Linked DNA regions of Homo sapiens: regions 2, 3, 4, 5, 6 and 7 are each linked to region 1. Evidence: promoter capture Hi-C in 16 types of primary human blood cells and fetal thymus (Javierre and others, 2016). All regions are on one chromosome and are shown on one strand. The core of a region is centred on a gene start or on the middle of the fragment in contact, and the rest is flanking DNA. Distances in the headings are between cores, read along the strand shown. Region 1 holds the start of PPP3CC (protein phosphatase 3 catalytic subunit gamma). Region 2 overlaps BIN3 (bridging integrator 3). Region 3 overlaps BIN3 (bridging integrator 3). Region 4 overlaps POLR3D (RNA polymerase III subunit D). Region 5 overlaps CCAR2 (cell cycle and apoptosis regulator 2). Region 6 overlaps PIWIL2 (piwi like RNA-mediated gene silencing 2). Region 7 overlaps SORBS3 (sorbin and SH3 domain containing 3).

Region 1 (3,434 bases), core at 524-3,023:
TAGCTAGGACTACAGGCGCCTGCCACCACGCCCGGCTAATTTTTTGTATTTTTAGTAGAGACGGGGTTGCACCGTGTTAGCCAGGATGGCCTCGATCTCCTGACCTCGTGATCCACCCACCTCGGCCTCCCAAAGTGCTGGGATTACAGGCGTGAGCCACCCCACCCGGTCTTTTTTTTTTTCTTTTTTGCCGGCCCGCAATGTTTTCTTAAACTTTTTATTTTTAGCTATCCTGTTGAGGTTCTTCCAGATGAATTTTAGCCTCTGACCCAGGGGTATGATTTGATAGGCGTGGAGTTCTGGTTACTTCTTAAATGAAGAGTTTCCCCAGGATATCTGAACAATTCTCTTGGGTGGAAGACTCAAGGATCATGAAAACGAAAACCAAATTCTAGTCGGCTCCTAAAGTCCTTTTGCCTCCTGCGGTTACCATCAAAGAGCTATGGTCAAAATTCCAAGGGATAATTCAGGGTCTGATTCCACTATATATCCCCAGACCGCCTATACATAAATCCATATTATTGGAGATTTACGCTTAATCCTATAATCTTTTACCTAACAGCTGTCCAGTAGAATTTTCTGGATGTCCAATAAGGTAGCCGCGTGTAGCTCTTGAACACTTGAAATGTGGCTAGTCCCCTAGAGGAACGGGATTAATTTAAATTTACATAGCTACAACTACTTATCGGTCACTGCGGTAATTGTTAAGACTGGTTTTGCCTGTAACTTGCATATGTTTTATTGGACATCAGTTTCAATATTTCATTTGCATTGCTAAAAGTCAAAATCCTTTTGACTTTGCCAGTTACTCAGTGAGAGGACAGTTGGAGCCAGTTTCTGTTCTAGGCTTACAGTTTTAAGGACAGATAAAGGTTAGTTTTTAACCTCGAGATGAACAGACTGTTAAGTTTCTACGGACTTGCCCATGGGGTTCCACAGTGAGCCTGGGCCGGGGAGGCAGGTACTGTGTCAGGGGGAAGAAAAAAGGGGCTTCTAGCTGGGCAGGTGACACACAGGGCATAGGAAGAGGTCAGTTCTTGTGGCCGAGGAGGTCCGGCCCGGGGGTCCCAGGAGCAGAGATCTCCCTTCTCTTCGATGTGGAAAGTGAGGAGGGAGCAGAGCCTTGCTCAGAAACGGAGCTCCCCCAATCCCCCACCGCCCTAGCTACTGGACTGGAACTAGGATGGACACGAATGTCCTTCTCATTGTACTAACTGCACTCAACAAGCGGGAAAGATGAAGCGAGGGGGTTTAAATGTGTGCGTTTGTTGAATGACCCACAAAAACTGAAGGAGCGCGGCCGGACTGATCACACTCCTTGAGACAAAGCGGGTGGGAGACCCAGAGGTGAGGAGGGTGGTCGCCTGTGGGCGAGGACTGGGAGGCCAGGGGTTCTCGGCGAGGCGGTCCCAGGAGGCGGCGCGGAGCCGCTGCGAGGCCGCAGGGCCGGGTCGCAAGATGGCCGGGCCGGCCTCCCGCGCGGGTCGCGCGGGCCACGCGGGCGGGTTTCAGATGTTCCGGGCCCGGGTAGGGGCTGGCAGGAGAGAAGGGGCCGGCTGCGGGGAGGGCTGGCTGAGAAGAAGCGAAAATGGGCGGTTAGCAGCAGGGACCCGGAGCCGGAGGAGCCGAGAGCAGCGCGTGCGCCGAGCTCTACTGCCTCGCGGGAAGGCGGAAGGGTGGGGAGGGCGGCGCTCGGGGCGGGAGGCCCGGCCGGGTCCGCTAGGACAGCGGGGCCGCTGGGAAGTTGTGAGAGCGGCGCTCGGGGGCGCGCTTGCGTGCACGAGGGCCCGGGCCGCGAGCAGCCGCGGCCGTCCCGGTCGCCACCCTTAGCAGCGGTCGCGGTCGGTGCCGAAGCGGTGTTCCCCGCCTTAGCCGCTGGCGCCTCCCAAGAGAGCGGCCGGTGGGCCCTCGTCCTGTCAGTGGCGTCGGAGGCCGGCGCTGCGGTGGCCGCGCCCTTCTGGTGCTCGGACACCGCTGAGGAGCCGGGGCCGGGCACGGCTGGCTGACGGCTCCGGGCAGCTAAGGCTGCCCGAGGAGAAGGCGGCGGCCGCGGCGTAGGCGCACGTCCGGCGGGCTCCTGGAGCCTGGAGGAGGCCGAGGGGACCATGTCCGGGAGGCGCTTCCACCTCTCCACCACCGACCGCGTCATCAAAGGTGCCTGGCGGGCCGGGCCTTCCTCTGGGACCCGCGGGAAACGGCCTTCGGCTGGGCGGCGGCTCGGGGCGGAGGGAGGCTGGGGCCGGGCTGCGCCCACCCTAGGAGGGCTCGGAGGGGTGTAGACAGAGCCGGGCGGCAGCCTCCGAGAGCAGCCACCCGGACCCGGCGTTTTCTGCTGCACCTGGTCAGGTGCCTGGCCGTCAGTGCCAAGTTCCCTCCCGAAGGGTTCAGGGTGCAGTGGGGACTTCTTCTCCCACCGCCCCGAAGGGCCCGGATCCCTGTCTTTTTTTCTCTTTAAGAAACGACTCGGGGGAAGCCATCGGGGGTGGTGTGAGCAGGGAGTCGACTCTTCCAAGTAAGATATTTAAGATTAGATCTTTCTTGACGTCCGCCCCCCACCCTTTTTTAGGACGTATACCATGTGCCTTTTGACCCGCTTTCTCTAGATCATTGCAAGTCACTGCTATTACTGGAATAAACTTAGTATGAACAAGTCAGATAAATCCATTATATGATGTTTAAAATAAGTTTACGGAGCTCTTGACAGGGTAATGGTATTTTATTTTCCCTTTGGTTATAAAGACTTGGAGAATGACGTTTTCTGATTCATATGTGTACCTGCGTTAGATTTCTGTTGTTGTTATAAGAACAAAATGTAAAGGGCTCTTTGCTCTCTAAATCTTGTAGAGTTTTAGGTTATAGTTGTTTCTCCCTTTAAACTAAGAAGATGGATTACACATAACCACTAATTTATGTGCTGCTTTTATTCAGCCGTAAGTCTTAGGCACAACCCTTCTCTCTGAGATTAACAATCGGTTTGAAAGCGCTATTTTGTAAGAAGGGAATAGACTTAGACCAGCTGTGTTAGTGGCCTCTGGATGCAGGGGTTAGCGTGACAGTGGGGAAAATTATTAAGATACTTTTCTTCTTTTTCATTTTGGTATTAGAAGGAGAAAGGCAACTAATACTAGTGACGGGAATACATTTTTAAAAGGTGAAACGCCTTATTGCATGTTCAGGGAGGGGGAAGAATTTTAGTGTATAACTTAGGTTTCCCCCCTCTCTCCCCAAATCAGCCTCATAAATGTTAATTATCTGTACTACATAATTATAATGGGATTTTTGAGATTTATCTGCTTAGCATTTGTATGCTATCGTTAGAGGTTTAACTGAATTGTTCATCTAACTGACATTATCCCCTGAACAGCTAAATTATTGTGACCATTTAAATGTGTCTTCATATTATTAGTGTATAGCCTATAAGAAGTATATAGCCC
Region 2 (3,434 bases), core at 374-2,873, 220 kb after region 1:
GGTTTTCAAACTTGAGGTCTTTGCAGAACATCTATCACTCAAAGGTCATTTAAACTGCTACACAGTCTTCCATTATATACATAGATCAAAATCAGTCATGAAATTAAAAAATCATATGCACTCACCTCAGGAAGAAAAAAAGAAAAAAAAAGTCAACTGAGGTGGGTCATTCTTTAAAAAAACAAACAAGGCTGGCCGCGGTGGCTCATGCTTGTAATCCCAGCACTTTGGGAGGCCAAGACGGGTGGATTACTTGAATCCAGAGGTTAGAAACCAGCCTGGCTAACATAGCGAAACTCAGTCTCTACTAAAAAATGGTGGTGCATGCCTGTAATCCCAGCTATCTGGGAGGCTGAGGCACGAGAATCGCTTCAACCCGGGAAGTAGAGGTTGCAGTGAGCTGAGATGGCACCACTGCACTCCAGCCTGGGCAACAGGGCAAGAGCCTGTCTCAAAAAACGAAAAACCATGAACAAGAACATAATAGAAAATATCAGAGTGCATTGCACACATACTGTGTCAAACTTTTATTTCAAGTATAAGTGTGTGTGTGTGTGTGTGTGTGAGTTGTGATATCAAAGGTATTTCTAACTGTGAGTTGTGTTCAAAAAATTGTGGAAACTAGTCCAGGTGTGGTGGCTAACACTTATAGTCCCAGCCACTCAGGAGGCTAAGGCAGAAGGATTGCCTGGGCCCAGGAGTTTGAGACTGTGGTGAGCTGTAATTGCACTACTGCACTCCAGCCTGGGCAACAGTGAGACCCCCCGATTTGTTTAAAAAAAAAAAAAAAAAAAAAAGGAAACTATTGTCCAAGTTAGCATCCTTGGCTCCATTTTTTCTCTTCTGAGTTATCCTGCAGGCCACTGCCAAAATAATCTGACTAAATCATTGCTTTGGCCATGCCACTTCCCTGCTCAAAAGCCTTCAATTTCCAAAAGCCTAGGCTCAATTTCAAGTCCTCAGCATGGCACTGAAAGCACTATATAACGTGGCCCTGAGGTGGAGTGCCAATTCTCCCCAATGCAGCCTCTACCCAAACCACTACTTACCACCTCCAAGCTGGCCTCCTGACAGTCCGCACAAACACTCTTGACGCATTCTGACTCCACACACCTTTTTCATGCCATGCTTCTTACCTGGATCCTTCTCTCCCTCCCACTGAAACAGCACGTATTTGCTAAGTCAAGGTTCAGTTAAAATTACATCTGCTTCAAGTCTTTCTTGATGATGCCATACTGACATTTAGTGATCGGCTGTCCTTTTGAATCCCTAGCACTTTCCATACACCGGCTGAAGATAGAGATCGACTCATGCAAGTCTTTTAAATGTTCCTCAACATTTAGCACAGACTTTTGCACATTATAAATGTTGAACAAGCATTAAATCAACAAATATTTGTTGAGCACCATGTATGTGCATCACACTATACTGGGCCCTATTTGATGGATTAGCCACCAAAATCATGAGTTTGGGAAAACAATTCTAATAGGTTTAACAGCTGACTCTAAAGCTTACTCCGACAGATTTCCTTAAAGAGTATAATACATATAACACCTCTGACTAAGTAGCTGTGGGACTCAAGACACTTGACTCTTTCTGACTGCTCCAAGATCTGGAAGAAATCCTTCTCCTCTCATTAAACGCCTGAAATAAGAGCAAGCTCACATACAGAATCTCACAGACATTTTATAGGGCCCCTGTCTTCAAGGCATTACTATGCTCTCCACAGAGGAAGAAAAGCTTGGTGTGTCCAAAGTCACAGAGGACATGAGTGATGAGGCTGCCTTAGGCAGGGGCCCCATAGGTGGAAGAAGCTGAGCCAGTTACAGAACACCTAGAGGTCTGCAGGACACAAGGACTTCCTCTATCACTTATGTGTGAAGACTGTCAACTCCCTGTGATTCACTACCAACCTGCTAGTGTCAACACACCTTAGCAAAGTGAAACTCCGTGATCCAATCAGCTTGGGAATGGTCTGCTACTCTTCTAATATTCCTGATCATGGGGACAGAATACTCAGGAGACACATTTTAGTTCTAGTTCTTCCAGGTACTAGCTGAGTGAATTCTAGTAAGTTACCAAGGGGGATCATAAGACTGCACTGCTTGCGCAGACATAAGCATGAAGTCAGACAAAGGACGGGAAAGCCATCTGAAAAGTTAGAAGCACTCTACACATGTGAGACAGCAACGGTAATCATAGGGGAAAGGACTTCACTGAGAAAAAAACTGAATAATGGTTTTGTTTGACCCAGAAGTTTACCTTCTTTATATTCCATTCATTTAACAATTACCTGTTAGATACCCACTATGTGCATGATACCCACTATGCGTACAAAAAGATGAAGAAGCTCTATGTCGCTCCTGTTCTCATGGGGTTGGTGTGGAAGGGAGGTGTACGTCTGTGATACTCAGAAGGATGCAGAAGTGCTACAGGAGAAGCACTATGGAAGTACAGAAGAAACCCAGCAAAGCACTTTGGAGTGGAGGATCAGAAGGAGTGGGGAGGAGAAATCACAGGCAGCCTGACCTGGAAGCCACTTGTGTCGGTCAATTTAACAATAGTACTTTCAGAGGCTCTTCATTTTAGGAAGTGGTTTGTAGGTTCTGCAAGTTTTTATCTTAACATTTTTCCTGAGCTGAGGCAAGTCAGGAAAAGGGAAAAAAGGCCCCATTCATATATTTAATAAACACTTCCTGACTGCCAGGAACAGTGCTAGGGAATAGCAATGACCACAAGACAGTCCCCATACTCAAGAACTCACAGACAAGTAAACCAGCCAGCGGAGTACAGATGCTGATGAAGGTCAGAAGAGCGGCACCCAGTGCAGCATGGCAGGGTGTGAGGGGCCACTCAGGGAAGACCCTCAGAGAAGGTGAAGCGTGGCCTGACTCTTGAAGGATGAGTAGATGCTGGCCTAGTGGACAGGGTGTGAGTGAAGGGGAAACATTTCAGGCAGAAGGGACAGTTATCCAGAGGCACATGGGCACGAGAGAGCAGGAGAAGCTTGGAGGATGGAACACACGGAGTGAAGATGGACAGCCAGGCCCAGAGGGCCTCAGAAGCCCTGGCCCAGAGTTGGGCCTCTATCCTGAAGATGATGGCAAGGGACTACAGGGTGAAAACAGGAAAGAAACAAAAAGGATCAAACATGAGGAACACCAAAGTGTGAAGGGCAGACAGAGGTAGAAGACCCCGGAAGAGTCAGAAAAATATCACTCCACTCATTTCACAGCAGGCTCAGGTGGCAAATTGTCAGCAGGAATGGCCACTCCATGCTACAGATGGAGAAACTAAGACAGAGAACAGCTCAATGCTTGACCAGGCCGCACTGTGAGTGGCTGAGCCAGAACCTGAACGCAGCACTCTAACTCCTACTCACACTTACCTGCTCTGCCTCTAATTTCCTTCCTTTTTGTCAAACTACTGGACCC
Region 3 (3,434 bases), core at 356-2,855, 200 kb after region 1:
AAGAGGGATGCCCTGTGTGCATCTGCCCGCACTGCGAGTCCTTGCCACTCCTTAGATCAACGGAGCCAGAGATCTTGCCACCAACACACTGGCAAAGCAGCTGGTTTGTCTACACTTTCTGTGGAGAACAAAGTTCATTTTGATAAAGGTTGGGGTGCTGGGAGGGTTTTTGTTTGTAGTGAGCATTCAGAATAAAAGAACCCTCTTGAAACCACTTCCCTTTCAGATCTGTCATGGATTAAACTCTGGAGACTCAAAGCCACACCTTCCCACTTCCTGCAGCCGGCTAGAGACCAACATATGCACACCCAGATTCTTTGGACTTCAGCTGAGAGCCTCCACAGATGGTCAGCCTCTGCATGAGAGGTCAGCGCTGAGTTGGTCAGCACCCTGCCTCTGCATGAAGCAGAGAGGCCCCACCCCCCAACTTTTTTTTTTAACAGACAGGGTCTCAGTCTATCACCTAGGGTGGAGTGCAGTGGTGCAATCAGAGCTCACTGTGGCCTCGAACTCGTGCGCTCAAGCAGTCCTCCTGCTTTAGCCTCCCAAGTAGCTGGGACTACAGGCGTGCATATTTTTTGGTAGAGTCGGGGTCTCTCTTTGTTGCCCAGGCTGGTCTCAAACTTCTTGCTTGAAATGATGCCCCCACGTTGGCCTTCCAAAGTGTTGGATTACAGGCGTAAGCCACTGGACCCTGTGAGGGTGCTTTTAACTTGGGCCTGTTTCCTCTCAAGTGACCTTACTCTGGATTTGCTAGAGATGGAGCCATTGGTCAGATGTGTGCCAAACTTCTCACCACACTGAAGCAATCTCTTTCCTGTACTTTTGAGAGCTCTGCCAAGGAGGGGAGAAGCTAGTAAGACAAGGAGAACCGTCAGGGGCTGGGATGACAGACGAGGGCCTCTGCCGCCAGCACAGCACCGGACTTCCTGTAGCTGTCACATCAGAGAGGCTCTACAGTTGTGGTCTCCCATGTTAAAACCAAGAGACCCACTCAGATTTGTGGGTCAGGAGGTTGAAAAGGCTATTTTGCACCGGGATTCCAAAACACTGGGAGGGCTTCACTGCCCAGGGAAGCATGAGGCAATGGAAAGAGTATCAGCCAGGGGCTCACGCCTGAGTTCTAACTCCAGCTTTGCCAGTGTGGGGTTTTTATAACTTGAGGAAGTCATTGCAACTTTCCACGGGCCTCATTTTCTTCATCAGGAAAAATCAGGAGGTTGGACTAGATGGTCTCTATGAGCTTCCAGCTCTAACTTCCTAAGAATCTATGATTCTCTTCCTTTCCCATTCTGGAGATAAAAACTTTCTAGGGATAAAAACTGTGGGCTTAAAGGGGGGTGGGATTCAATCTTCCTTTCCTGCTGAGTGACTCTGGGTCATGGCCAAGAATGCATTTGGAAGTTGACACAAACAGGCCGAGGCCACTGGGAAAAGCTTCCTGGAGTTTTCTGCAGCTGAGGTAACAGAAATAAATGCCTGGGCAGTGTCTTTGGTGGGGGCCACTCTTTCAGGAACACTCTTAGGAAAAGTATAGACCACAAGCCAGTCCCTAGAGGTGGACCGTTCTAAAGCAATATCTTCCTCTACATTTTTGTAATCCACCCATTCCCCCTGCCCAAGGATGATAAAGAGCCCAGGCTAACCTTTCCTAGGGGAAGTGTCCCAGGACAGGAGGCCCCTCTAAGCCTCAGTCTATGTGAGGTTCTAGATCCGCATAAGCAGGAAGAAGGCCCAGGTTGCTGTCTTCCCAGCCCCAAGATGTGTTGATTCAAAGCTTTGATTCTTATGCAAAGGCCATGTGATACAGAACTGAATCTCACAGCAAAACAATCGAGTTACTCACTGTTTTGGGCACAATCTGTTTCTTGGGCTGCCCAATCTTAAAAGGAATCCTATAAGAGAAAGAGACAAAGAGAGATATTGTGAGAAGTGGGGAAGGATGCAGCTCAAAGTATCAGTACAGTACAGGCCACTTTCCCCCAGGAGGGCGAGGAAGCGTGGCCATGGCTTGCTACTTGGACCATGTGCCCTGGTGGGCATACAACCATTGGCATCTGGGCTTGGTTCTAAGAGAGAGATAGGTCCTCCCACCTACAGTGTCAGATGCAGGTTGCTCTGCCCCAGAACATCTTTGCTACTGATAGTCTGTCATTTAAAGAAAATGAAAAGGTGAGGCCAAGGAGTTTGAGGCTGTAGTGACCTATAATTGCACCACTGTTCTCTAGCCTAAGCGACAGAGCAAGACCCTATCTCCAAAAAAAAAAAAAAAAATCCGCTGGGTATGGCAGCTCATACCTGCAATCCCAGCACTTTGGGAGGCCCAGGTGGAGGACTGCTTGAGCCAGGAGTTCAAGACTAGACTGGGCAATATAGCAAGATCCTATCTCAAAAAAAAAAACACAAAAAAACAACCACCAAAAATTAGCCGGGCGTGGTGGCACATGCCTGTAGTCCCAGTCACTTGAGAGGCTGAAGCAGGAGGATCACTTAAGCCCAGGAGTTTGAGGCTGCAGTGAATTATGATCATACCACTGCACCCTAGCCTGGGCAACAGAGGGAGACCCTGTCTTTTAAAGAGATAAAGGAAGGGAACAGAAGGGAAGAAAGGGGAAGGGGAGGGGGAGGAAAGGAAAGGAAAGGAAAGGAAAGGGGAAGAGAGGAAAGGCGAGGATGGCAGGAAAGGGAAGACACCCGCGAGGATGGCAGGAAAGGGAAGACACCCTGTGAATGACAATAAAACCTTGTGTCTTGAGGAGGTGCAAACTCAGAAATTACAGACTCACTGTAATAGCTATCATCCTTGAAATCACGAATCATTATGGTCTATATTAGGTGCTTTGCTACTTCTCTATAGAGGGGCAAACTTTGGATCTGCAAATCTTCTTTGGAGGCTGGGGAGAGTTAATAAATAACAGAGGCATTAGTGATTGGCCGGGCTGGATTATTTCCCTGGGAAAACTCACAAAATCAAAAAGCTGCTAACTTGGAAAATAATCTGAAATCCAGCCCAAGTCTGCCTTGGACTTGCTATGAAGAGCTGCACCTCAGATTCCCTACTTTACAGCATGGCACAGCGGAAGGAGGATCATGGGTCTAGGAGTCTCAACCTGAGCATTAGCCTGGCCTCCGCTTCCACTGAGCAGGCTGCCCTTCGGCAGGTGACGGCTGCACTGGGACTCCATTTCCTGCTGCATAAAACGAGTAGATTAAACTAGGTAATTTAGGAGCTTCCTTGAGGCACTGAGCATTCTATGATTCTCCAACTCCAGGAAGAAAAGAGGCCAGGCTAGAAAGTGCATCCCAATGGCTATGGAAAGGGTAGACTCCCGATCCCAGGTAGGAAGTGAGTCAAGAATCCCTGCGATCAGCTCCGGCAGAGGGCTCTCAGCCAGCCATGCTCATCCCTCTCCTTTTGGCTCTTCCATTCAAAC
Region 4 (3,434 bases), core at 300-2,799, 190 kb before region 1:
GAAGAACATGTACTGCTTTCACGTTCATTTCGCCCATTCAGATGTCTTGGCTTGAACCTTATGACTCCGTATCAAAGTCCTCACAACCTGTCTCAGATCCCTGATGCACAAATTAGGTCTTATTAATAAGTGTGGGAAAAGAGAGGAGAGTCCACCTTCTTGGTCAGGCCCCTGAGGCATGCATTTCTACCAAGGAATATGGACAGATGACAGAGGAGAAGAGCCCAAAGCCAAATTTATACATGAGTGCAAGTGGATGCAAATTTGTTGCTCCCTGCATCTGTGTATATGCTTTCTGTTAAATACAGAAAGAAGGAACAATAGGCTTGCACACTTTTCTAACTACATGTTTAAGTGGCAGAGTCCAGGCTGTCGAGTCACGGTTGGGTTTGAATCTGACTCCACCAGTAACTTTGGTTGGAAAAAATCACTTATCCTCTTTAAGCTTGATTTTATTTATTTTATTTTATGTAAGAGTGAGACAGTAGTAGCTTAATAGGGTTGCTTTTAAATTAGAGTGAACATGAGGCATTTATTCGGTGCCAGACAGATAACTGCCTATAACAGGATGTGATCAGCACAAGTAACAGAAAATTAGCCTGACGGTGGCTTAAGCAATGGGAATGTTTATCTCACATAGCAAAAAGTCTGTAAATAGATGGTTCTAGAGTTGGGTGGAAGCCAAAATGTCATCAGGATTTCCTTGGAACCGTCTGCTTTGCCATCCTCAGTATTGCAGAATGGCTGCTCCTGCGCCAAGCATCATTCTGCAAATGATGGTGTCCACAGCCAGAGTGGACAGTAGTACAGGAGCCTTCTCATTCTGCCCTTATCCGGGAATAACCGTCAGCAGCTCCAGCAACCTCCCCCCTGTCTCTTTATAGAGTGGGGCCACGTGCCCACTCTTGGACCAGGCCCTGGCAAAGGGGGATGGGTCGACTAGTGTATCCCCTGGCACTGAGCACACTTGCCCTTGAGCTGGGGTTTTGTTAGTAGGGAGGAAGCTGGAGTGGCAGTTGGATAGACAATTCATAGTAGCTGCTGCCATGTTCAAAAAATGCTGCAATGTAAAATCATAAAGTATTCATCTAGGCATAACTTTTTAAAATATTCAGTCACCTTTTATTCTACTAAAATCAATTTTAACATTTTAGTGTATATTATTTTATTTTAGATTCAGCAGGTACATGAGCATGTTAGTTTTGTTTTGTTTTGTTTTGTTCTGTTTTGTTTTTTGAGATGGAGTCTCACTCTGTCGCCCAGTGGTGTGATCTTGGCTTACTGCAACTCTGTCTCCCAGGTTCAAGTGATCCTCCCGCCTCAGCCCCCCAGATAGCTGGGATTACAGGCACATGCCACCACACCTGGCTAATTTTTGTATTTTTAGTAGAGACGGGAGTTTCACCATGTTGGCCAGGCTGGTCTCAAACTCCTCACCTCAAGTGATCTACCTGCCTCAGCCTCCCAAGTGCTGGGATTACAGGCGTGAGCCACTGCGCCCAGCCACATGTGCGTGTTTGTGTATATTGCGTACTGGTGGGGATTGGGCTTCTGTCATACCTATCACCCAAATAGTGAACATTGTACTCAGGTAGCATTTCAACCCTTGCCCCCCCTCCCACTCACCCCCTTTTGGAGTGCCCAGTGTTTGCTATTTCCATCTTTATGTCCATAGGTACCCATTATTTAGCTCCCACTTATAAGTGAGAACATGTGCTATTTGATTTTCTGTTTCCGAGGTTAGGATAATTACCTCAAGCTCCATCCATGTGGCTGCAAAGCACATGATTTCATTGTATTTTATGACTGCTCATGTATATTATTTCAGCCTCCAAAATTTTGTATGTTATTTATAATGATATAAATTATGTGGTTTTATCGTGTACTCTATCTCACTCAGAAATACATACAATTCTTCGTTCCCAGCTACTCTGGAGCTGAGGTGGGAGGATCACTTGAGCCCAGGAGTTCAAGACCAGCCTGGGCAACATGGTGAAACCTTGTCTCTGAAAAATAAATAATACACACCCACATGCACACACATCCAGTTCTTCCATGTTAATGAGTATGTTGTGTTTCACATACTTCTGAATTAGCCGAAGGAATTAAAGGTAGCATCTTTTAATCCTCAGACTGCCCTGCGTGGTCCGATTGAATTGGGCAGTCAGCACTAGGCTCTTCAAAGGGAAACAGGCTTCTTTCTTAGGACGGTGCACAGTGAAAGAGTGGCACACACGCTGTTCATCCAGTGCTCCAACCCCCAGTCCTGGTGTCAGATACTTCTACATTTGGGGCATTTCCCCTTGAGATGGCTGTGGCTAGCGACACATGATGTGAACACCTCTCTTGGATTGTGGTTCGGCCGCACAAGGCCCCATCAGAGTTCTACAGGTGGAGTGTGGGGCCCAGAAGGGGCTCAGGTCTTAGGGGTGTCATCTGAAAAAACAGAGATGGTGATGGGACACCAGTTCTAGGAGCCCTCTGCATGGCCACTTTCTGCCTCAGCTCTTCTAAAGCATTTCTTCTGTTCCCTTCCATTGGGGTAACCACTGATCTGTCTTCCCAAAAACTGAGTCAGAAGTTGGACTTTGTTACTTGGCTCATCTACATTTAAGATATAGTCAGAAAAAAAATGCAGTCTTTACATCTTAAGAAAGCTTACATGGGCCAGGCGCAGTGGCTCACACCTGTAATCCCAGCACTTTGGGAGGCCAAGGTGGGCGGATCACCTGAGGTCAGGAGTTCGAGACCAGCCTCAACATGGAGAAACCCCGTCTCTAGTAAAAATACAAAATTAGCTGGGCGTGGTGGTGCATGCCTGTAATCCCAGCTACTTGGGAGGCTGAGGCAGGAGAATTGCTTGAACCTGGGAGGCGGAGGTTGCGGTGAGCCAAGATCACGCCATTGCACTCCAGCCTGGGCAACAAGAGTGAAACTCCATCTCAGAAAAAAAAAAAAAAAAATAGAAAGCTTACATGAAAGAAAAAGAAAAATGCAGTCTTGATCACTGTTGGCCTGGAGACTTTATCTTGTGTGTTTTCCAGGGCGTGCATGAGGTTTCACTGGACAAGTAGAAACCATTCTAGGTATTCAGAAAGAGTTAATACAAGAAGAGAAGTTTATAGACTCGTTGGAAGGCTGGAGGAGTGAGCCATAGGTTAAGCATCCAGGAATCAGCACCCCCTAGAACAGATGGTGAGGGAGCTACACCCTCTGCCACAATCAGGAGGGTGGAGACTCAAGCTCGACTGAGTTCCGGAACACAACACACTGCCACAGCTGCCAGCCAGGGGTGAGGGAATCCCACAGCCCCAGCTGCCTCTGGGGAACCATACAGCTGTAGCTGGACCCTGGCACACCTGAAGAAAGTGCCTGCTGTGTGCTAGGCACCCTGCAGGAGTTAGGAAAGCAGTGGTTAGGGGCTGTGTCCTGCT
Region 5 (3,434 bases), core at 257-2,756, 170 kb after region 1:
ATTTGGATTTTTGGATTTGGGATGCTCAGCCAGTAGGTATAATGCAAACATTGCAAAATCTGAAAAAAATTCCAAACCCAGGATGCTTCTGGTCCCAAGCATTTCAGATAAGGGATACTCAACCTATACTACCATTGGGAGGGAGATATTATATTACCATTCGTCAGTAGAGAGAATGTGCAGAGTGGGGCCAGGGGTAGTAGGAAGTAGGTCATTCTGGGGCAGCAACTTTTATTTATTTATTTAGTTTCTCAGCTTTTAATTTATGAAGGACTCAGCCACATTAATGTTTTGCATGGAAGCCAAGCTTTATTTTGAATTCCTGGCTTTGGGATGCAGAGAACAATGTCTCCATTGAGCTGCTACTGCTGTGCTGTGGTTTTTAGACAGGTGTACCCAGCTGGGCTCTGCTGCTGCAAGTCCTGAGAGGTCAGCCCCTGGTGCTGCCTTACAACCTCCTGACAATGTACAGGAAGCGGAGGAAAGTGGCCACACAGTGTACAGCGTTGAGTGGACCATAACAGTTTAGCTAGAGGCCGACAGCATTCCTGCGAGCTGGAGAGTTGTCAAAGTGGCTTTGGCATGGGTCTTCTATTAGAAACATGGGCTACTGACATCCCATCGGGGCTAGAGAAGAAGGCCACTTTTGGATGGAGATGCTCATGCACATGGAAGTGACCAAGGCCAACAGAAAAGAGCAGGCATCATGATAAATCTCTTCAGCTTAGTCACTGGGGTGTGAACAGGGAAATGACCCAGGCAGGTCTAAAAGGCAGAACAAGAACCTTCTGGTGAATACAATCAACTCAGTTACCCAGGCACAGAGAAATGGCAGTGGGTTTTATTTCTCTCATGTGACATGGGGGGTTTTCCCCTTATCAGTCTGGCACGTTATAATGAATGGTCTAAAGGTTTTTTCTCCTCAACTATTTTTATTTATTGTACCCATATCTATTGCACTTATAACGTAGTTATAGTGTAATACTGTGGTGACTTATTATAAAAATGTGTAAAGCAGTACATGCTATTATATAAAATTAAAATAATATAAATACATAAAATTAAAATAATATAAATACGTAGGCCAGGCGCGGTGGCTCATGCCTGTAATCCTAGCACTTTGGGAGGCTGAGGCGGGCGGATTACTTGAAGTCAGGAGTTCAAAACCAGCCTGGCCAAGATGGTGAAACCCTGACTCTACTAAAAATACAAAAATTAGCCAGGCATGGCGGTGGGTACCTGTAATCCCAGCTACTCGGGAGGCTGAGGCAGGAGAATTGCTTGAACCCGGGAGGCAGAAGTTGCAGTGAGCTGAGATCACGCCACTGCATTCCTGCCTGGGCAACAGAGCAAGACTCTGTCTCAAAAAAAAAAAAAAAAAAAGTATATATATGTGTGTGTGTGTGTGTATGTGTGTGTATATATGTGTGTATATATGTGTGTGTGTATACATATGTGTGTGTGTATATATATATGTAAAAATATGTGTGGTTTCTACCTTCTTTCTCTTTAAAGGTAACTGTTGTTAACAGGTAGGTATTAAAGAATTTTAGAAAATAATTTTGAAAAGGAAAATCTCTTGCCACTCTTTTCTCCTGTGTTCTAGTTTTTATCTATACATGTGCATACTTTTTGCAATTTTAATCTTACAGTTCAAATTATTTTTGTGTATTTATAAACAGTTTTCCATATTGCAGCATAATCCTGAGTGTTTTAATGGCTGCGTGATTGTTTGTATTTACTATGAAAATTTGGGTATTGCTGAGTATGTATTTGGTTTTTTACTCTCAGTTTATGCTGCTTCATATTTTTCCACTATGTGTAGTCTTTCTTCTTCTTTTGAATTAACTTTCTTGGGACAAATTTTCAAGAGTGTAATTACTGGAGCAAATGGTTTGAGTGTTTTTATGACTTTAATGTGTATTATTAAGGATTTGTAACTGTCTCTCTTTTTTTTTTTTTTGGTGAGACAGAGTATCGCTTTGTTGCCCAGGCTGGAGTGGAATGGCGCGATCTCGGCTCACTGCCACCTCCGCCTCCCCGGTTCAAGCGATTCTCCTTGCCTCAGTCTCCCGAGTAGCTGGGATTACAGACGTGTGCAACCACACCTGGCTACTTTTTTGTATTTTTAGTAGAGATAGGGTTTCACCGTGTTGGCCAGGCTGGTCTTGAACTCCCGACCTCAAGTGATCCGCCCACTTCGGCCTCCCTAAGTGCTGGGATAACAGGCGTGAGCCACCGCGCCCAGCCTTGTAACCGTCTCTTCTAATAAAATTTACTTTTTTTTTTTGAGACGGAGTCTTGCTCTGTCACCAGGCTGGAGTGCAGTGGTGCAACCTTGGCTCACTGCAACTTCTACCTTCTGGGTTCAAGCGATTCTCCTGCCTCACCCTCCCAAGTAGCTGGGACTGCAGGCACGCACCACCAGGCCCAGCTAATTTTTGTATTTTTAGTAGAGACGGGGTTTCACCATGTTGGCCAGGATGGTCTCGATCTCTTGACCTCGTGATCTGCCCGCCTTGGCCTCCCAAAGTGCTGGGATCACAGGCGTGAGCCACCGCGCCCGGCCAAATTTACTTTAAAGGACGCATAGCATGGATCCATATATGCGTCTCTTGTTTTTAAAAGAAAAATCATTTTTTTCTCATTTCAAAAAAATCACGTTAACTATAATTAATGAAGTGCAGAAAAATAGAAAATTATTCGTAAGCTTTCCAGAGGCTTCCATCATTAATATTTTATTTCCTTTCAGTCTTCTAAAGTTGTTTTTGCAGTAGCTGAGGCCTACTGTGTATACAATGTTGCAGAGTGTGCTTTTTGCTTAACAGGAATGTTTATTAAAACAGTAAATATCCATTTTAATATCTTTATAACATTCTGTCATATGGCTGTTAGCATGGATTCTTTTTCCATTTATTGAATGTGAGGGATTTCGATTGTTTCCAGTTCTTTTAGTTCAGTTTGTATTGAATACATATAACAATGTGGTTTCTTACTGTTGGTGATGGGTCAACCTCTAGTGATGACTATGACTCCAAGAAACGCAAACAGCGGGCTGGTGGAGAGCCCTGGGGTGCTAAGAAGCCAAGGCATGACCTGCCTCCTTACCGGGTCCACCTCACTCCTTACACTGTGGACAGGTGAGTGGCGAGGCTGAGGTGGGCTGAGTCTTGCTGCTGGTAATAGTTTCTTATGTAAATGAGATGGCGTCTATGCAAGTGCACATGTATGTTCTTACAGCCTTTTCTTACAAAACGAAAAGCACATGGAAACCTGTTGTACATACTGTTTGGTGGTTTGCCTTTTCACTGAATGTACTTTAGATTTTATTTCGTATGAACATTTATTAGATCTAGTTCTTTTTTTTTTTTTTTTTTTTTAGCAACTACACAGTATTCATTGAATGGATGAACATGATTTATTTACCCAGTTCT
Region 6 (3,434 bases), core at 283-2,782, 150 kb before region 1:
TTTTAAAACTTGCATTAGGTGTCTTCCATGATCTTTTAACTTATTTTGTATGTGTAATTTTGTATTCTTTTTCTTAAAGAACCCTCCCCCCTCCCCCATCAGTGGTGTGAAATCCATGCCCTATGAAACCTGGATCCTTTCCTGCATGAGCCATCATACCAACATCTGACATCTCTCTAGTGACAGTCTAGGGTTAAATTTAGGGGTGAGAAAAATGAAGGAAGATAACTGCAGTTTTATATCAATAATTTTAGGATTTATTACTATTTAAAAATAGTTTATATTAGTTTGTGTTCTCTCTTAATATCTTAGAGGAGTCATTAGCTGGAAGTTCTTAGCTGGAATTGTGAAAATGAGTGTTTTGAAATACCTGTGAAGAAAATGAGAAGATGAAGTCTCAGTTTTTTTAACTGAAAAATAATTGTGTATATGTATGAGTACAAGATGATGTTTTGGTATATGTATACATTGTAGAAAGATTAAGTCAGGCTAATTGACATATGTGTCACCTCACCTACTTACTGTTTTTTTGTGGTGAAAACATTTAAAATCTCTTTCAGGAATTTTGAAATACACGCTGTTGTTAACTATGGTTACCATAGATCACTAAAACTTACTCCACCTGTCTATCTGAAACTTTGTACATTTTAACCAACATCTGCCATTTCTCCATACCCCTCAACCCCCAGCCTCTGGTAGCCACCTTCCTACTCTCTGTTCACAATGAGTTCAACTTTTTTAGATTCCATATATGAGTGAGATCAGATGGTATTTGTCTTTCTGTGCCTATCTTATTTCACTTACCATAATACTCTCCAGATCCTTTCATACTGTCACATATGACAGGATGTACTTCTTTTTAAAGGCTATATAGTATTCCGTTGTGTATGTATACCACTTTATCCATTCAGTGGACACTTAGATTGATTCCACGTCTTGCCTGTTGTGAACAGTGCTGCAGTGAACATGGGAGTGCACATATATCTCTTTGACACACTGATTTCAATTCCTTTGGATAAATACCAAGAAGTGGGATTGTTGGATCATATTAGTACTATTTTTAGTTTTTTTAAGAAACTTCCATACTATTTCTTTTTTTTTTCTTTTGAGACAGGGTCTCAATCTGTCACCCAGGCTGGAGTGCAGTGGTGCAATCTCAGCTCACTGCAACCTCTGCCTCCAAGGTTCAAGCAATTCTCTTGCCTCAGCCTCCCTAGTAGCTGGGATTATAGGCAAGCGCCCCCATGCCTGGCTAATTTTTGTATTTTTTTTAGTAGAGTCGGGGTTTTGCCATGTCGACCAGGCTGGTCTCAAACTCCTGACCTCAAGTAATCCACCTGCCTCGGCCTCCCAAAGTGCTGGGATTACCGGCATGAGCCACCATGCCTGGCCAGAAACTTCTATACTATTTCTAAAGGTAGCTATACTAGGAAGGCTGAATTTGTGAAGGGCAGCTGCTAGTTGATGACACAAGAGGAAGAAGTGGAGTGAAAGAGAGGAGAAAGGAACAGTTAGGGAGAAAATATTCTGAAGGTATGTTATAAAGACCAAAGGAAGGACTCTTTTGAATGAAGGTAATGAGAAGGTGGTTGACTTTGGCCACAGGAAAAAAAGCAACTGAATTTGCTTGTTGAGGGTGTTGTGATCTTCTAGCAGTTTTGTTACAGTTGTAGAGAAAAAAAAGGAAAGATGAAAAGCACAAAGGAGGGCATAGGCCATGAGAAGTAGCCACTGACTTGGCCACTCATTTAAAAAGTTTATAAGAGGAATGAGAAATGGAATAATTATAGAAGGCAACAGGATTGCTGTAATAGTTTCTATGAGGTAAGAAAGCGGAGCTGAGCACATACAACAGGTAGAGGGAAGTAGCCAGAAAAGTGGGGGAAATTGGATCCCAGGAAACAGGCTTGTTGTGAAACATACAGCAAAGAGGTGAGCATTAAACAGAGGGGAGAGGGCTGCATGCAGTGGCTCACGTCTGTAATCCCAGCACTTAGGGAGGCCGAGGAGGGAGAGTTGCTTGAGGCTAGGAGTTCCAGACTGTCTTAGGTAACAACAACAAAAAATTTTATTTATTTATTTATTTTGAGACAGAGTCTCACTCTGTTGCGCAGGCCGGAGTGCAGTGGCACAGTCTTGCCTCAGTGCTACCTCCATCTCCCAGGCTGAAATGATTCTCATGCCTCAGCCTCCCGAGTAACTGGGATTACAACCACATGCCACCACACCCCACTAATTTTTTTGTATTTTTAGTAGAACAGGGTTTCACCGTGATGGCCAGAGTGATCTTGAACTCCTGGCCTCAAGTGATCACCCACCTCGGCCTCCCAAAGTGCTGGGATTACAGGCATGAGCCACCGAGCCAGGGCAAAAAAAAATTTTTTTTTAGTCAGGTGTGGTGGTACCCTTATAGTCCCAGTTACTTGGGGGACTGAGGCAGAAGGATCACTTGAGCCCAGGAGTTTGAGATGGCAGTGAGCTATGATCATGCCAGTGTACTTCAGCCTGGGTGACAAAGGAAGACCCTATCTCAAAAAAAAAAAGGGAGATGGGGAGAAGTCTTCCTCTTAAAATGGAGTGACAAATGTTAAGGAAACAAAGGGAGAGTCACTTGAACTTGGGAGGTGGAGATTGCAGTGAGCTGAGATGGCTTCACTGCACTCCAGCCTGGGCGGCAGAGCGAGACTCCGTCTCAAAAACAAATGTGTATATATGAAAGAATATACACTGACGTGCTAAGGCAGGTGTCCTTTGGTGGTAGGATTTGGTGGTTTTTATTTTTTTATGACCTATGGTTTCTGATGTTTCAGCTGCGAGCAGGTCTTCTTGAGTCAAAGTTCTAGGCAGATAGATAATTTTTAATATGCCCGCTAGATGGAGCAGCAGTTACTGGGTAACTAGCACCTGTTGCACAGCTCTGGTAAAGATTGCAGTTTGAGTCAAGTTAAAGGAAAATCCTCTTCATTATTTTCCAGCCCCAATGTGGAGTGCAAAAGCATGAGGTTCGGCATGTTGAAGGACCATCAAGCTGTCACCGGCAACGTCACTGCGTTTGATGGATCTATTCTCTATCTGCCTGTTAAGCTTCAACAAGTGAGACCAAACAGGAAATGGACTTTGAGATGAACCCTAAGAGTGCTCTGGCGTTTTTTGTTTGGTTTTGCTTTTAAGAGATTGGGTCTTGCTATGTTGCCCAGACTGGTCTCGAATTCCCAAAGCCCTGGGACTACAGGCGTGTGAGCCACTTCACCTGGCCCAGGACTGGTGTTTTGAGGGGTAGGAAACCATAGAATTCCTGTATGTTCGAGTTGTGCTTTTCTGTTCATAGAGGGGAAGACAGATTTCTGCAGGACATCACAGCACATTTTAGGTTTGAATTCCTCAAGAAGCACCTTCTCACATGAGAGGAATGGTTGGAAGTCTGTGACCTCAGT
Region 7 (3,434 bases), core at 154-2,653, 130 kb after region 1:
AGGCTTCACATGGCCTCTTTCCCCAGAGTGGGCGGGCCCTGTGCAGGTCTCATCTTCAAAGGATGGGCCGTCCCCAGAGAGAAGAGAGTGGCCAGAAGCCCCCTGCCCTGCCCCAAGCAGGCTTTGAAGCCTGAGGAGTTGGGGGGCTGCTTGGGCAGCCCCTTGACCTGGCAGCCCACCCTTCCTGATCTGATCCCAGTACAGCTGCCAGCCAGCTGTACTGACCCACCCAGGACCATTAAGCACTAGCCTGTGAATGGCCCCTACCTTCTAGTGGGGGAGGGAGGGAGGCGGTGCTTGGAGATGCATTCAAATTTACTGGATACACTTTTGCTTTGGAATTTTTTTACAACTACTAATAAAGTTTTGCAAACCTATGCAGACAAGAAGAAAAAGTACCACTTTTGTATTAGGAGCCACAAGCGCTTTGAGAGGAATGGGCGAGACCTGTGCCCTTTCCGGTATGGCAGCCACCGGCGGCATTCAGCTGTTGAAATGTAGCTCAAATGAAATAAATTAAAAATCCAGTTCCTCAGTTGCACAGGCACATCTCAAGTGCCCAACAGCCACAGGTGGCGAGTGGTGCCCATTTTAGTTAGTGCAGGTCAGGGAAGGCTTCCTGGAGGAAATGAGGGAGCTGGGCCTGGAAGGGCAGGGGAAGGATTTGGGGAGGCCAAGAGGAAAGGGAGGTACTCGGGGCAGAGGACGAGGGTGGGGGTGGGACGAGCACGGGCTGCCCCCAAGGAAGTCAGGGTGCCAGCCTGGAAGGGGAGGCCCAGGATCATCCATTCACCCAAGGTCAGGAGTGACGTTCATTTCAGTTTATATTCCTATTTTTCTATATATAGGAATATAATAATATTTATTACATTTCTGTATTTCTATATTTCTCCATTCCCTCTTCCTCCCAGGCTGGAGGAACCAGCTGGGGGGTGTGGGGATACACAGGTGTGAGCCCTGGTCCTTTCCACCAGGCGCTCTCCCCAAGGGCTGCTCCAGAGGCAGGGGTGTGCAGGGAAAAGGGGCAGGGCTCTGAAGGTCGGCAACCCCGGCCTGGGTCCCCAGTGACTCCATCAGTGACCCTGGGGTGGTGCCAGTTTCCTCCAGGGCGTCCTTCTCTTCATGGCACGAAGGAAAGCAGCCAACAGAAGTGCTGGCTTTGGGGAAGCATCGGGTGCCAGGCCCCCCAGATGCTTTGCCCGCTGGGGTTCCCCCCCCTCCTCCTCTTCAAGACACGAGTTTCTGTGGGGCTGAGAGGCCTGGATCGGAGTCCCAAGCTTACTCCTAAGCGTCGGGGTGCTCTCGGGCAATGCATTCAGCCTTCCCATAGGCCTTCCCACCCATCTCTAAGTGAGGGTGCCCTATTAGACCAGGGACGTTTCTCCCGATTTCAGTTCTGTGATTCCTCCTCCTGTGTCCCCACTTTGCGGAGGAGGGGGGGAGTGACTCTGCTGTGTACAGTGTGATGCACATTTGTTGATTGCTCAGATTCTTTGGTGGTTGAGTGTGGGAAGTGTAGCTTTGCCCATCTAAGCTTCTGCCGCTAGGGGGCAGGAAGGAGGAGAGCAAATCCAATTCCCTCTCTGGGCTCCCCTACAGAACTCCCCTACAGTTCTGGGCACTGCCGGCAGGGGGCAGGCCCTCACCCCTGCATCCCTGTTAAAGAAGGGAGTGGGGAAAGCTCTTCCTGCCTTTCCTCTTTCAGGTGTCTCCCGGAGGACCCAGAAATTCGGAACGTTCCCTGGAAATTACGTTGCCCCGGTGTGAGTGGTCTCCATGGCAACTTGGAGCCAGCCAGGATGGGGTGGGGAGCGGTGGCACTCGTGGGAGGGAGAGGACCCCCGCCCACATCCTCCTTCCCCAGGACCTGAGCTCCCAGCATCTGCAGACGACCCCCGCAGCCTTTCCCTCGGACCCCCCTCGAAGCCCCCTGGACTGATTCCCACCCACGACTCACAGGCATTCCTCCCACAGCCCTTTCATTTCCTCCCCACCCCACTCCCCAAATACAGAGGTCTGCTTTGAAGCGGAGACCATTTCCAGGCCTTATTGAGACCAGACCCCAAGTCCCCCACCCCCATCCTGCTCCAGCGTTTCCTCTAACAGGGACCAGCTCTCCGCTTTGCCCCCACGGGGTTCCTCTAACCAGAACCAGCTTCCTAGCCTCGTAGAGACCAAAGGCCGCCCCCGCCTGCTGGGGTTCCTCCCAGCACCCCAGCTTGCTGGCTGCCCTCTTTGCCTTCTGGCCTCCAGCTGGGTGTGGGGGGGCGGAGCAAGGCGGGGGACAGACGCAGCACCTTCTTAGCGATCTAGGCCTGGCAAGAGCTCTGGCCCCAAGGCCTCCTCTTCCCAGGGGCTGCCAAGTCCTGGCCCTGGCCCTGGCATATCACCCCGCACTGTGGGGCCAGGCACCACTAGCCTGGCTCAAATATTCCCCAGGGAGACTGCTGTGTGCTGCCCGCCTGCCTGCTGGCTCTCCCCCAGCCCCACATCCCCTCTGGAAGAGAATGTAAAATAAACCTGGACACAAGGGACCTTGTCTCTGCGGCCTTTTCCTTGGGGTAGGGGATGCCTCCTCCTGTCTAGGAGATGGGAATTCCTTCTGTGGAGGGCTGTGCTGGGAGACAGGTGGGACAGGTGTGTGTGTAAGAGGAGGAGGATGGAAAAACACCATTATTACCTCCAAAGATCTCTGCCCTTGGGTGTCAGGCAGGTTGCGGCAGCCCCCACAATTGGGCAGCTGTGTGGCAAGAAGTGCTGGGAGAATGAACAGTGCCAGGCCCTGGTAGCAGGGAGACACCAGAGATGGGGGACTGAATGTGGCCTTGTTTGCAGACTGTTTTGATTCTGGAGCTGCCACCGTGGGGTTGCTGGGCTAGATGACATTTCTAACTATTCTGCTGTTTTCCTTCTGTGTGCTCTGTTTCCACACCGAAGCCCTTGTGTGTGTGTGTGTGTGTGTGTGTGTGTGTTTATTCTCCTCTTTGGGCTCAGGCTTTTGAGCAATCCTTTGCGGGAAGCTGGGAGTGGTCAAGCACAGCCAGCCAAAACTCCTCTTGAACAAGGGTGTTTTGTTTGTTTGTTTGTTTTTTGTTGTTTTTTTTCTGTGTGAGATGGGGTCTCATTCTTTCGCCCAGGCTGGAGCGCAGTGGCCCGATCTCGGCTCACTGCAGTCTCTGCCTCCCGGCTTCAAGCAATTTTCCCACCTCAGCCTCCTGAGTAGCTGGGATTACAGGGTTGCGGCACCATGCCCAGCTAATTTTTGTATTTTTAGTAGAGATGGGGTTTCACATGTTGGCCAGGCTGGTCTCGAACTCCTGACCTCAGGTGATCCACCCACCTCGGCCTCCCAAAGTGCTGGGATAACAAGCGTGAGCCACCGCGCCCAACCTTGAACAAGGTTTTATAGTCCTGGAGCTTGCAGGTCCCTGTGG

What was found. The method cuts DNA at HindIII sites, captures the fragments that hold promoters and counts their contacts. A CHiCAGO score of 5 or more calls a contact.
Region 2: a fragment that was not itself captured here is called in contact with the fragment with the promoter of PPP3CC in region 1 in 1 of 17 cell types (M1 macrophages); the score reaches 5.4 in M1 macrophages.
Region 3: a contact is called between a fragment that was not itself captured here and the fragment with the promoter of PPP3CC in region 1, in 1 of 17 cell types (total CD8 T cells). The highest score is 5.6, in total CD8 T cells.
Region 4: a contact is called between a fragment that was not itself captured here and the fragment with the promoter of PPP3CC in region 1, in 1 of 17 cell types (endothelial precursors). The highest score is 6.1, in endothelial precursors.
Region 5: a fragment that was not itself captured here is called in contact with the fragment with the promoter of PPP3CC in region 1 in 4 of 17 cell types (naive CD8 T cells, endothelial precursors, non-activated CD4 T cells and 1 more); the score reaches 5.8 in naive CD8 T cells.
Region 6: a fragment that was not itself captured here is called in contact with the fragment with the promoter of PPP3CC in region 1 in 1 of 17 cell types (endothelial precursors); the score reaches 5.6 in endothelial precursors.
Region 7: a fragment that was not itself captured here is called in contact with the fragment with the promoter of PPP3CC in region 1 in 16 of 17 cell types (megakaryocytes, total CD8 T cells, endothelial precursors and 13 more); the score reaches 28.0 in megakaryocytes.

The regions. Positions count from the first base shown.
Region 1 is chr8:22,439,305-22,442,738 of GRCh38, forward strand. PPP3CC (protein phosphatase 3 catalytic subunit gamma) reads left to right here and starts at 1,774. Exons shown (of 14, transcript NM_005605.5): 1 at 1,774-2,154. The coding sequence starts at 2,106. RefSeq lists silencers at 1,357-1,546, 1,637-2,296. The HindIII fragment of the contact is 13,070 bases long and covers 1-3,434 here.
Region 2 is chr8:22,662,666-22,666,099 of GRCh38, forward strand. All of the region lies in intron 1 of BIN3 (bridging integrator 3), which reads right to left. Among named protein-coding and RNA genes, the nearest start is that of BIN3, 4.7 kb to the right of the region's middle. The HindIII fragment of the contact is 230 bases long and covers 1,509-1,738 here.
Region 3 is chr8:22,642,909-22,646,342 of GRCh38, forward strand. It overlaps BIN3 (bridging integrator 3), which reads right to left. Exons shown (of 9, transcript NM_018688.6): 2 at 1,847-1,895. Among named protein-coding and RNA genes, the nearest start is that of BIN3-IT1, 2.4 kb to the left of the region's middle. The HindIII fragment of the contact is 340 bases long and covers 1,436-1,775 here.
Region 4 is chr8:22,252,471-22,255,904 of GRCh38, forward strand. POLR3D (RNA polymerase III subunit D) reads left to right here. Exons shown (of 9, transcript NM_001722.3): 9 at 1-2,131. It overlaps PIWIL2-DT (PIWIL2 divergent transcript), which reads right to left. Exons shown (of 2, transcript NR_134293.1): 2 at 2,106-2,436. Among named protein-coding and RNA genes, the nearest start is that of POLR3D, 9.1 kb to the left of the region's middle. The HindIII fragment of the contact is 2,212 bases long and covers 444-2,655 here.
Region 5 is chr8:22,609,997-22,613,430 of GRCh38, forward strand. It overlaps CCAR2 (cell cycle and apoptosis regulator 2), which reads left to right. Exons shown (of 21, transcript NM_001393997.1): 8 at 3,021-3,140. Among named protein-coding and RNA genes, the nearest start is that of CCAR2, 7.0 kb to the left of the region's middle. The HindIII fragment of the contact is 2,403 bases long and covers 306-2,708 here.
Region 6 is chr8:22,284,553-22,287,986 of GRCh38, forward strand. It overlaps PIWIL2 (piwi like RNA-mediated gene silencing 2), which reads left to right. Exons shown (of 23, transcript NM_018068.5): 7 at 2,976-3,093. Among named protein-coding and RNA genes, the nearest start is that of PIWIL2, 11 kb to the left of the region's middle. The HindIII fragment of the contact is 3,099 bases long and covers 1-3,082 here.
Region 7 is chr8:22,572,962-22,576,395 of GRCh38, forward strand. SORBS3 (sorbin and SH3 domain containing 3) reads left to right here. Exons shown (of 21, transcript NM_005775.5): 21 at 1,706-2,827. The coding sequence ends at 1,767. Among named protein-coding and RNA genes, the nearest start is that of PDLIM2, 5.8 kb to the right of the region's middle. RefSeq lists enhancers at 1-301, 1,367-2,085 and a silencer at 1,475-1,624. The HindIII fragment of the contact is 257 bases long and covers 1,276-1,532 here.